4 separate regions of the Homo sapiens genome follow, and all the other regions are linked to region 4. The links are contacts of gene promoters, found by promoter capture Hi-C in blood cells and fetal thymus (Javierre and others, 2016). All regions are on one chromosome and are shown on one strand. Each heading gives the region's core, a stretch centred on a gene start or on the middle of the fragment in contact. The rest is flanking DNA. Distances are from core to core; before and after follow the strand shown.

Region 1 (3,112 bases), core at 128-2,627, 3.6 Mb before region 4:
GCTGGAGTGCAATGACGCGATCTCAGCTCACTGCAGCCTCCGCCTTGTGGGTGCAAGCGATTCTCCTGCCTCAGCCTCCCGAGTAGCTGGGATTACAGGCACCCGCCACCACGCCCAGTTAATTTTTGTATTTTTAGTACAGACGGGGTTTTGCCATGTTGGCCAGGCTTGTCTCGACTCCTGACCTCAGGTGATCCGCCTGCCTTGGCCTCTAAAAGTGCTGGGATTACAGGAGTGAGCCACTGCACCCAGCTCAGTTGCTTTTTTTTGCAAACAGTTTTTGTGAATATAGATATAGAAAAATACATAAAATGTATGTGTTTGGTTTAACAAAATATTATGGAGCAAAAACCCATGTAATGTAATTATCACCCAGTCAAGAAATAATGGTAGCCTCTCAAAAAATACATTAGGGATTCTTTTTTCTTTTCTTTTTTTTTTTTTTTTTGGAAGAATATTGCATACCTATTAGAAAAGTCTTTTAACAATTAAAATTGGAAAATGACTGACAAACTTACACTATTTGATTTAAATAAATAAATAAATGGTCACATGATAACAATCTCCTGATTGATATGCTTTATTTAACCAGGTTCTCAAACCATTGGATGTGAAAACCAAATTTTACAATGCAGAGGTAAGTGTTGAGTGTTTAATGGGATTTCATATTAAACATTAAGATCGTATTTGACTAAAAATCTCTTATATACATTTCTAATACTGAAGCAAATCGCCAACGTGACTGTAAATTATTTGAAAAAATCACAAATTTCAGTTAAAATTGAATAATTTTATTATAGGTCTCATAATCTTTTTCAGCTTACATGGAATCAATGTGTCTTGATTTTTATTCTCGTTAATTTTATAAGGCTTTCATCTCCTTTCGTTAAATGATTGCCCTCTCATTCCATTTAATGGTGGTTGTTACACTAGCAATCTGTTGAATATTTACATGTGGTTCGGGATTTTACAAAAATTGAATTAGTAGATCTAACGCTGCAAAATAGATTTAATATTCACATGGAAAAATACTGACAAGTGAAGCTTAGCACATTAAATTATTTCCAGGGTAGTCAGTTTGCCAGCCAGAATTAGGTTGCTGAGTTTGGTGTAATGGCTTTAAAAGCTCCTTGGGAAAAACAAATTTGGCAAAAAGAGAAGTAACTTATAATAGAAGATACTCTATCTTTTACCCTAAAAAAAAAGAGATAAAATAGAACTTGCCCAAAAAAAAAAAAGAACTTGCCATAGGAGAAAGGATTTATTGCTTGGATTTCTTTTCTAAGATTCTGTTTTATCTTGGCTTCTAGAGCTGCAGAAAAATCAGATCTCTTGCTAGCCCTCTTATGCCCCAAAATCTTGTGTTTCATACCAGTGATAAATTCAAAGATATCCAAATACAGTATTTTGAAATGAAGATTATATCTCTGCTACTCTAAAACCAGATAATGATCAGACATTTTTAATCACATGGCAAATTCGGTATTTATTTTTACCATCCACAATCTGAATTTTTACTCAGTAAAATTTATACTATAACTAGGATTTCTAAGATGTCAAAGTTAAGGAACCTAACCTGCAGCAAAGACCTATTAGGAGAAAAGAAAAAATGCATGTAATAACAAAACTACCTAGAATGGAATATAGTGAGAATGATACGAAAAGATGTGCTGCAAGAGCTCTCGGGAATGTGATCTTGGAATAGTTTAAAGAAGCTTTATGGAAGAGAAGGAAAACTGGATTGGAGTCTGAAAGGAATGCAGGTTGGAAACAAGTGTCAAAGCAGTGAAGGCATTCAAGCAGGGTTACAAATGGACATGAAGTATCAAGTACATAGGAAAGAGCATACCTATTTGACGAGAGGGAAAAGCATCATCAAGATTACTAGATGTTTACAAAGTTGATGTTTCTTTTGTGGGGGATAGGTGAGTTGGAGTAATACGCATTTATTCCCTCTTTTTTGTTATTAATACCACACTGTTGATTAATTACAGTATAGCTAGTCAGCATGGTGAGATTTAAATAGTCTAATTTTTGCTGGAAAAGATTTCATTTATAGTATGAGGGGAAAATGTTAACTATTCTGTTAGAAAATTAATTTAAAATAGGGCAATAGGTGGGTTATTTTCTGTAACTGGCTCCTAGGAGTCACATATTCAGTTATTTTAGGTTTTCTTCATTAAAAATATGGTAGTACACTAAGATACCTGTAAATTAGTTTTATAACGCTAATATTCAGAGTGATTTGTGAATAATTTTAAAAATTGCTAGTTTTTCTATAAACATTATAGAAGTGACATGCTCTCCATAAAGAAATAAAAATTCACAATTCCACCACACCAATTGATTTTTCATTATACATACTCTTTTGCAGTCTTTATTCACTTATATATAATATTCTATTTTTATAATCACGACAATTTTGTTTGCTTCCTTTGTCAGTTAACATTATATGTTGACATAATCTTTAAATCTTGCTAACAAACTTCAATCAAAATAATTTCAGTAATATTCTGAACTTTTGAAAATAGATCTCACTTTAAAAATCAGGAGTGAACAAATAGCATTTTGGGTCTCTCTAAGATACTTAATATTACCTATTAGACAAACAAATACTGTTCAGCCACTAGCATGAGGCAGATTATGTTGACCCCAACCAGGAATTTCAGGTAGATTGTAGGAGTTAATAAACCACAGTAATATCAGTAAGTGATGCTTATTGCTCTGTGCTGTAGTCCTTTTACAGTTAATATTATTGGCCCCACATCTGTCTCAAACATATATTTTGATACTGTTTCTAATAATGCTGTAATATGTGAATCACCTAAAGGAAAACAAGTTCATGAGAAACTTTGTTATAGTCTTCTAAGATAGAAAAGCCTTGCAGGCAGATTGGTGAGACTAGAAGCTAGGTTTCAAACATTTGGTCACCTGCCAGGTACCGAAGATAAATATAAACAGAACATCTTCCCAATTCTGAAGGGACCTGCATCCAGTAGAGGAGACTGACATGATGCAACTATAATGTAAGCCCCTCCCACACATATAACCCAAATCGTGAAGTAACACATCCTGGGTACCTAGAGAGGTGAAAAATGATTTCCAGCTATGC
Region 2 (2,710 bases), core at 169-2,668, 3.1 Mb before region 4:
ACACTAGACATTTTTCCTGTGTTGATTTTTTTTGCTTGTTGATTTCCGTCACTTCTCTGGTCTTCTAAAGTTCTAAGAAAGAATGGAAAAATCTGTCAACTACTTAAGTTTATTTAGTTAAAAAAAATGTAACCACTAAAGCCACTTTATAGAAAATAGAGAAAAGGAAACAGCACTTGTGATCCCACCACTCTATCAAAGCTTCTCTCCATTTCCCTGTAGTCCTTTTCACATGCGTTAATAAATATTGGACATATTACCTCATTGGTTTTAAAAATAATTGTATAGTGCTATCATTATGTAATATATGTAATATAGCGTAATCAAAGGAATCACACTGTTATTTTACTTTTTTCACTTTGTCATAAGCATTTTCCATATTGCTGTCTTATTTATAGTAATATTTAGAGATTAGTAATTTCTGAGTGTATTGTGTGTTTTTGAAATTCTATTGTTGGATATTTTGATTGCTTTTTTTGGTATTACAAATTAGTGGATTTTAGCTAGAAATTGGGAGGTGTGTCTTTTTGATTGTCAACAATGATTAGAGGGCCTGTTGGCATTTAGTGGGTAAATGTTAGCAACTTATAAGTAGTCTTAAACAGGATGAATTGTGCTAATCCATAGGGCCACTGAAGCCCAGTGAAGAAACCCTGTTATAAATAATGCACCAACTAATATTTTTGTACATGATACTGTATGCTTCGCTCATGTTTTGGCATATCTTTTTTGGTAGGTCCTCTGTCCTCTAAAGGATGTGTATTAATGTACTGATAAAATACTGGACATATTATTACCTCATTGGTTTTAAAAATATTGTATAGTGCTATCATTATGTTTAATAAAAGACAAAATAACCAGTTAGGGCCAAGAAATTTAATTGATGCCCAAAAAGTTGGTTCTTTGGTTTCTGCGTGTACTACCCACTGAAAAGTTTTAATTTTTTTTGAAAAATTGATAAGATTTTGTATTTTAAAAAACCAAAACTTTAAGTCAACGAATGAGGTCAAACTAAAATCTGCTAAATTTGGGTACTGCTATTTTCTTCTTAAAATTTATTTCTAAAATTTTATTTATTTATTTAGTTAAGTAGAGACAGGATTTCACCATGTTGCGCAGGCTGGACTCAAACTCCTGGGCTTAAGCAGTCCGCCTGCTTTGGCATCCTAAAGTGCTGGGGTGACAGATGTGAGCCACTGTGCCTGGCCTGCTAGTTTCTATAGATGCATACATTTAGACCAAATGGAATATGTCATCCCTTTTTATGTGTTTTTTTTTCCCCCAAGGTCTTCTTCTGTTGCCCAGGCTGGTCTTGAACTCTTGGGCACAAGCAAGTACACATTTGTTTGATGAGCTATCTGTTTGTTGGCTTGCTACTCTAATAATTTTAGTTTATAATGGTCAAAATAAAATAGTGTTACCTTGCCTGAAATTTTCAAATATTTGCATTTTTATAAAGTAAATGTAAGTTGGTCTTTATTTTAAGGAAGGTAATTGGAAATGAAGATTAAGAAAATTGGCCGGGTGCAGTGGCCCACGCCTGTAATCCCAGCGCTTTGGGAAGCCGAGGCAGGCGGATCACGAGGTCAGGAGTTCGAGACCTGTCTGGCCAACATAGTGAAATCTTGTTTCTACTAAAAATACAAAAAATTAGCTGGGTGTGGTGGTGTGCACCTGTTATCCCAGCTACTTGGGAGGCGGCAGGAGAATCGCATGAACCCGGGAGGCGGAGGTTGCAGTGAGCCGGGATCCCGCCATTGCACTCCAGCTCGGGTGACAGTGTGAAACTCTGTCTCAAAAAAAAAAGGAAAAGAAAAGAAAAGAAAATTGCTTAAATCAGTGGAGTAGCCGTACCTAATATCCATACTTCCATGATGATGCTGTTCAGAACAGACCAACATTTTTTTAACCAGTTCCCAGGCTTCTGAAATGTTGGTGGCATGTCTTCAGATGTAGTTGCATTACAAACCAGACTCAGAATTCCTATTCCTGTGGATGTTTTAAGTTTGAAATGAAGTAGATTTCAACTAGGGGTATTTGGAAATGTGGTTTTAGTTTTCAGTAGTGCTTACTTAACATTTACATTCCTTCACAAAAGGATCCGTCAGTTTAGGAAATGTTGCTTCAGAGATGACTGTCAGGCTCTTGAAGATTTCAGAGGCAAAAGAGTTATTCCTGTTGGAATTGCTAGGGCTTTAGTAGGTTATTATAATCACAGATTGTTTTTGGTTAAAAAGGACAGAAACAGTGTTACCCAAGGTACATCGAGAAGAGACATTATTATTAAAAAGAAAGATTTCACTGCGTTGAAAAATAAAGATTGTAGTACAGCCAGGCCTCATGGGAACTAGTACTGGGAACCAGAAGGGTATCAGCAATCAAGATGACTATCTGCTTCTTTCTCTGCAGTGGTTATTATCAGTTCAGTTTGTTTCTATCTACTCCATTTCTTTGCATACCTATTATGTACTCATCATCTGGCTTACAGCTTGCTGTAAGTCACCTTCCAGCCCAATAGAGAGAACCTGATTGATTGATCTAGCTCATTTGGTCGAGCCTGACTTCCAAAATTAGAGGTTGCTGGTCAGCCAGGGAAATGGGCCCTTGAGACTGGTGACTAATCATTTATGGCTAGAGAAGCTTATAGGATCTTTTGAGGGTTTCACATGAGGAAACCGTGCTAAGGCCTGTGCCAAAGCAATATAGAATG
Region 3 (2,946 bases), core at 447-2,946, 3.1 Mb after region 4:
TTTCTGGGCTTATGGTCATCTGCATACCTTACCTAATTTATATAATAAAGAAACAGGTACAGATTATTATTGTCCTTCCTAGAAGAACTGATCTTGAAAAATACAGGCTGAAACTGTTTTTGTTTCCCACATTTTAAAAGAAAAACGAGGACACATGACATATATCATGCATTGAATATACAGAAGGAAGTATGGAAAACTAGCCTAGCAACCAATTTGGACATAGATTTTTAGACTTCCTTCTATTTGTCTGTCACCAGAAGCTTTAACATAAATAAATCCAATAAAGGAAAAACATGAAATCAAGCTTTGTGTACATATATATTAATGAGACTAAAGAACGGTGATGTGCACAAGTCAGACCCATCTCTAGAACTTGGCAAATATGGAAACTGGAAAATGAATAGATGCCACAGAGATGCAAATACAGAACTGACAAAAGTTAAGAAAGCAGACTTCAGAAAATCTCCATCAGGCCTCAAGAGCAGGATCTGAAATATTCATGCAAAAAGCCAAAGGCCTCTACAGCTGAAATGACACAGCAAAACTAAATCTCAGCTAAAATGGAAGAAGTGTCTGTAAGAGACAGACCTGAATGCAAATGTGTCAAGGAAATACTCTTTGGATTCAAAAAGGAGGTTCTCCAAAAACAAACCAACAGAAAACAAACCAACAAACCAAGAGAAACCAACACAAACAAGCAAAACAGTAACCCAAACCAAAATGTGTCCTATACTTTGTGATGTGAAAAATCACAAATAAAATATTTAATCCAGTAGGGCTCATGAATCCTGAATTCAGCTCAAGTCACCTGAGTGCTCGCTCCTTGTCAGAAAGACTCAAGAAAACTTCCTCTCATGGAACTCAAGGAGCTTCCCCATGAGGCCTGCCCTCCTACCAACACCCTACCCAGTTCCCCAGTGGTTTTCTCCTGAGTCCTGTTCACAGTGGATCCTATTCTGTTAACTAGTAAATGTTGATAACTTTTACCCTGTACCTCCCCAACAAATCAGCAAGTTAGTGGAGGAATTCCAGAGACAATGCTTTAACTCAGTGTTTATTTTAGCCAAAGGGAAGCCCAGTACAGAAACAATCAAAAGTTGAAATCTGATTGAAGTAGGAAAGCCCAGGGCTCTACAGAGCACAGTTGAACTATGGCCCTATCAATAAAAGTATCAACAGCAATGGATTAAAATGTCTCAATTATTTAAATCTATGAGTTCTTAATGACATTTTAAGAAGTCCTCATTCATCATTTTTGCAAGTTATTTTGAAAGCTAACTCATATACAAACTATTTCAGGGTAAGTAAACTGTTGATGAATGGAAGTTCTGTCATAAAAATTTCCTAGATAATAAATGAAAAGAAATGATAAAATTTAAACAGCAATAGTATGCAGCTTCAAATGAAATAACAAATCTAAGTAAAGATCATGAATGGCCTTTAACTTCGCAGAGGGGCAATCAAATGCTGTGTGCTTACTGACACAAGTAAACACTTACTATGAAGTATTTATACCAAAAGACAAAATAAAAAGTCCTGAATCTGATCAAGCCCCTTTCTCCAACTACCAGTTTCACAAGACATATGGAAGGCAGAGGAGCACGCTAAACACCACAATAAGGATGAAATCAGCAAATCTAGAATGTGGGAAACTCCAAAAAAGACCTGTTTTGTTCAATAAATAAATTGCAAAAAACTTACAAACTAAGATAGTTGAGACAACTCAACACATTGCAAGGTATGGACCTTATCTAGATCACATTTCAACAAACTAAATTAAAAAGAAATTTATAAGACATTTGGGAAAATGTGAACATTAATGGAATATTTAATATTACAGAAGTACTAGTTTTTTAGAATAGTATGATTAATTACGTTTTTAAAAATCCTTATCTTTTAGAGGTACATATCAAAGTACATATAAAAAAACCCCGATAATTAAGTTTGTTAAAAAGTAATCTGGTGAACAGGTGGGGAGTTGATGAAACAACACTGGTAGGGAATTGATAATTGCTGGAGCTGGGTGACAGTACACAGGGGTTTATTCTACTCTCTCTACTTCTGTATGTTTCTATTAAAAAGATTCAGAAAGAGTTAACGGGGGCACATAGCAACCAATTGTATTATACGAGGCTTTATTTGAATCCTGATTCAACCAAATCATAAAAAAAAAAATTTGAGAGTATCAGGGATACCTGAGCCAGGAGCGGTGGCTCACGCCTGTAATCCCAGCACTTGGGGAGGCCGAGGTGGGCGGATCACGAGGTCACGAGTTCGAGACCAGCATGACCAAAAAGGCAAGACCCCATCTCTGCTAAAAATACAAAAATTAGCCGGGCATGGTGGCGGGCGCCTGTAATCCCAGCTTCTCGGGAGGCTGAGGCAGGAGAATCGCTTGAACCTGGGAGGAGGAGGTTTAAGCGAGCTGAGATCGTGCCATTGCACTCCAACCTGGGCGACAAGAGCAAGGCTCTAAGAAAATAAAATAAAATAAGAAAGAGAGTATCAGGGATATCTGAACACTAACTGGATATTTCGTGATATTTACAACCCTATTAATATTTTAGGTGTGATAATGGTATTGAAAAGCACCCTTGTCTTTTGGAGATCTGTATCAAAATATTTACGGATGAAATGACTTACTGCCTGGGATCTCCTTCAAAATTATCCAAAGCATCGGGATGGGGAAACAGTAATAAAGATAAAATAAAGACTAAGAGCTGATAATTGTTGAAGCCAGGTGATGGGTAAAGGGGGCTCCTTATACCAAGGTGTCTACACCTTCAAATGTTAAAACACTAAAAAAAAAAAATCTGTGGCGTTAGAAGTCAGGATACCGGTTACCTTTGGAGAGACTAAGTGGGGGCCGCAATAAGGGCTTCTGGAGCGGTAGGAATGCTCTTGCTTCCTACACAGGTTTACTCGCTTTGTGGTAATTCATCA
Region 4 (2,898 bases), core at 16-2,515:
GTGAGCTCAGATCGGGCCAGCGTACTCCAGCCTGAGCAACAGAGTGAGACTGTCTCAAAAACAAACAAACAAACAAAGGCAGGGGGAGGGGGGCACATTTCCATGTTGACAGCTGCTCTGGCTCAGAAACTTTTAATTATCCACTAGTAGAGCCATCTGGATTACTGCAATAGTTCTCTAATAGGCCTTCTTTCTTTTTCTTGTCCCTCAAAATCTATAATATAGTCTCCCAACAGCAAGAGTGAACCTTTTAAAAGTGAGTCAGGTCATATCACTTGTCTGCTCCAATCCCTCCAGTGGGTTTTCAGTGATGACTTTCTTGTACCACCCTATTTAAAACCTCCATCCCTGCCCCTGCCCTGATTTGTTATCCTTTATCTGCTTTATTATCTCTATAGCACTTATCACCTATGTATCATAACACATATTTGACTTGTTTTTTTATCTCCTCCCATTGGAAGGCAGGGATCTTTGCTCCCTGCTATCTCAGATTCTACAATGGTGCTTGGCACATAGATAACACTCAATATCAGCATCCTAAGAGAGAGAAAAATGAAAAAGGAAAAGCACTCAATATGTTTTTGAATAAATGAATTAGTGTGTTTGTTATGACAATTTATGATAATCAAGGGGTTGGGTACTCATTACTGCTAAGTTAATTGAGCACTGTCTCAATTAATTGAGTTAATGTCTAAGCTTTCTGCATGTTTCATTTAATACCCACAATCTCCTGTGATGTAGTTCATTATTTTTTCCATTTTACCGAGTAGAAAACTGAGGACTAGAAGCTGATTCCCACAGCACGTTTCAGTTGAGTTGGATTTTGTTTTCCTGGGCCTGCTTCTTCATAAAGGGACTGGACTAAGAATACTCTTGACCAGCCCGTAAGAACTTGGCACTCGTCTCAGTAATCTGAGATAGCAGGGTTTGGCGTCCATAGCAACCACGGCGACAGGACGCGCTCGAGCAAGAACCAAAAAGCGAGAACAGGTACAAGGCCAAACTTTCTACATTCACAGACACCTACCAAACCCCGAACATGGAACACCAAATTAGAACGCTGACCAGTTCCTGGTAATGTAGAAAACACCCAAGTTAAAACGGCAACAGAGTGACACAGCAGCCATTGAAGATGCCCCACTTCAGGCACCGACAGGCGTCACGTGACGGGTGGGGAACGCCAACCGCCTGGGCCTAGCGCAGCTTCCTCCGCCCACCACGGAAGTGAGGCGGGGATACTAAAGCGACGGAGCCCGGTGGACGGAAGTGGGTGTTGGAGGCTTTAAGGTAGCTTTAAATTCGTGTTGTCCTGGGAGCTCGCCCTTTTCGGCTGGAGTCGGGCTTTACGGCGCCGGATGGCTCTGGACGTGAAGTCTCGGGCAAAGCGTTATGAGAAGCTGGACTTCCTTGGGGAGGGACAGGTGAGGCTCTCTGGAAGGACGGGGAGGGCCCCAAGCGGACAGCCCCGCGCCGCCTCCACCTTTGCGGGTTTTCCCGTGGAGGCCAGAGGTCTGGCTTGGCTGCTCGTTCTCGTTGGGGGAAACCGTCCAGACGCACTTGCTGCCCATTCTTTACATCCTGGGGGTGAATCCCTGAGGGGCCTCTCCTTGCTGAAGAGTAGCCTGGAGCTGGACGGAGACTGACCCGCCACGTTTCCAGCCGCCGCGAGTCTGCTCAGGAACTCTGGGCTCTTTGCTTCGCGAAATGTAAAAATGCAAAAAGGCAAACACAAAAACTCCCATAAACTTATGTTATTTCTATTTTTCTTTCTAGTTTGCCACCGTTTACAAGGCCAGAGATAAGAACACCAACCAAATTGTCGCCATTAAGAAAGTGAGTTACCTTTTTATGTTGTTTTTAAGTCTCCTTGAAGATGTCTGTATTATTAATTGACTGATAGCCATTTTATTAGTCTTGACCATACTCTGATAATGAGTTACTCATGTCATTTTCAGAGACAAAATAATTAATTAGTGCTTTGTGTTCCCAAACGGAACTCTAGGGTTGAACCCGTTTTAATTTCTATTGAAATGAAGAAGAAGCTGTATGTTATTTTTACTGCATAAATTCATATGTTGTGGGCAAGTACTGCCCATCTTTTCGGTCCTCAGAACTATTGGATACCATGATCTTTCTAGGTCACTGTTTATACCTCACCTGCATCCACTCAGTGTGTCGTATCTGTATTTTCTGTGTACGGATTTACCATGAAAGACTTTCACTAGCATGAACAACATTGATGTGAGGTCTAAAATGAGTTCAGTAGCTTCTTATATTCATTCAAAAGACCTGGGTCGGATTCAGTAGCTTCTTATATTCATTCAAAAGACTTGGGTCGGGCCAGCCGCGGTGGCTCACGCCTGTAATCCCAGCACTTTGGGAGGCCGAGGTGGGCGGATCACTTGGGGTCAAGAGATCCAGACCATCCTGGCCAACATGGTGAAACCCTGTCTCTACTAAAAATACAAATATTAGCTGGGTGTGGTGGCACCTGTCTGTAATCCCAGCTACTCGGGAGGCTGAGGCAGGAGAATCACTTGAACCTGGGAGGTGGAGGTTGTAATGAGCCGAGATGGTGCCACTGTGCTCCAGCCTGGTGACAGAGGGAGACTCCATCTTAAAAAAAAAAAAAAAAAGATTTGGGTCATAATTACATAACTCACGTTCACCTACATTGTTTCTTTTAACCTTCAAAACAATCTATAAAGTGGTTAAAAGTAACCCTATTTTATACTTGAGGTACCTGAGACTGAGTGACTAGGTGACTTGTCAAGATCACACAGCTAGTGATTGCTGAAGCTGGGATTTAAATCCAGGTGTCCTGATGTTGCTTTTGTTACCGTTGCTACTTTGAATCTGCTTCTCCTGCTTCAAAAACCCTAACTCCTTGGAAGTTAT

Evidence for each region. Contacts are between HindIII fragments. The CHiCAGO score rates a contact against its expected background, and 5 or more counts as called.
Region 1: a fragment that was not itself captured here is called in contact with the fragment with the promoter of CDK7 in region 4 in 1 of 17 cell types (non-activated CD4 T cells); the score reaches 7.0 in non-activated CD4 T cells.
Region 2: a fragment that was not itself captured here is called in contact with the fragment with the promoter of CDK7 in region 4 in 2 of 17 cell types (non-activated CD4 T cells and neutrophils); the score reaches 6.3 in non-activated CD4 T cells.
Region 3: a contact is called between a fragment that was not itself captured here and the fragment with the promoter of CDK7 in region 4, in 1 of 17 cell types (activated CD4 T cells). The highest score is 5.7, in activated CD4 T cells.

Annotation. Positions count from the first base shown.
Region 1 is chr5:65,651,909-65,655,020 of GRCh38, forward strand. TRAPPC13 (trafficking protein particle complex subunit 13) reads left to right here. Exons shown (of 13, transcript NM_024941.4): 7 at 593-637. Among named protein-coding and RNA genes, the nearest start is that of TRAPPC13, 28 kb to the left of the region's middle. The HindIII fragment of the contact is 671 bases long and covers 1,043-1,713 here.
Region 2 is chr5:66,147,554-66,150,263 of GRCh38, forward strand. All of the region lies in intron 1 of SREK1 (splicing regulatory glutamic acid and lysine rich protein 1), which reads left to right. Among named protein-coding and RNA genes, the nearest start is that of SREK1, 4.6 kb to the left of the region's middle. The HindIII fragment of the contact is 2,439 bases long and covers 200-2,638 here.
Region 3 is chr5:72,304,871-72,307,816 of GRCh38, forward strand. All of the region lies in intron 2 of MRPS27 (mitochondrial ribosomal protein S27), which reads right to left. Among named protein-coding and RNA genes, the nearest start is that of MRPS27, 14 kb to the right of the region's middle. The HindIII fragment of the contact is 2,782 bases long and covers 306-2,946 here.
Region 4 is chr5:69,233,621-69,236,518 of GRCh38, forward strand. It overlaps CDK7 (cyclin dependent kinase 7), which reads left to right and starts at 1,266. Exons shown (of 12, transcript NM_001799.4): 1 at 1,266-1,421; 2 at 1,774-1,833. The coding sequence starts at 1,356. RefSeq lists an enhancer at 988-1,516. The HindIII fragment of the contact is 18,686 bases long and covers 695-2,898 here.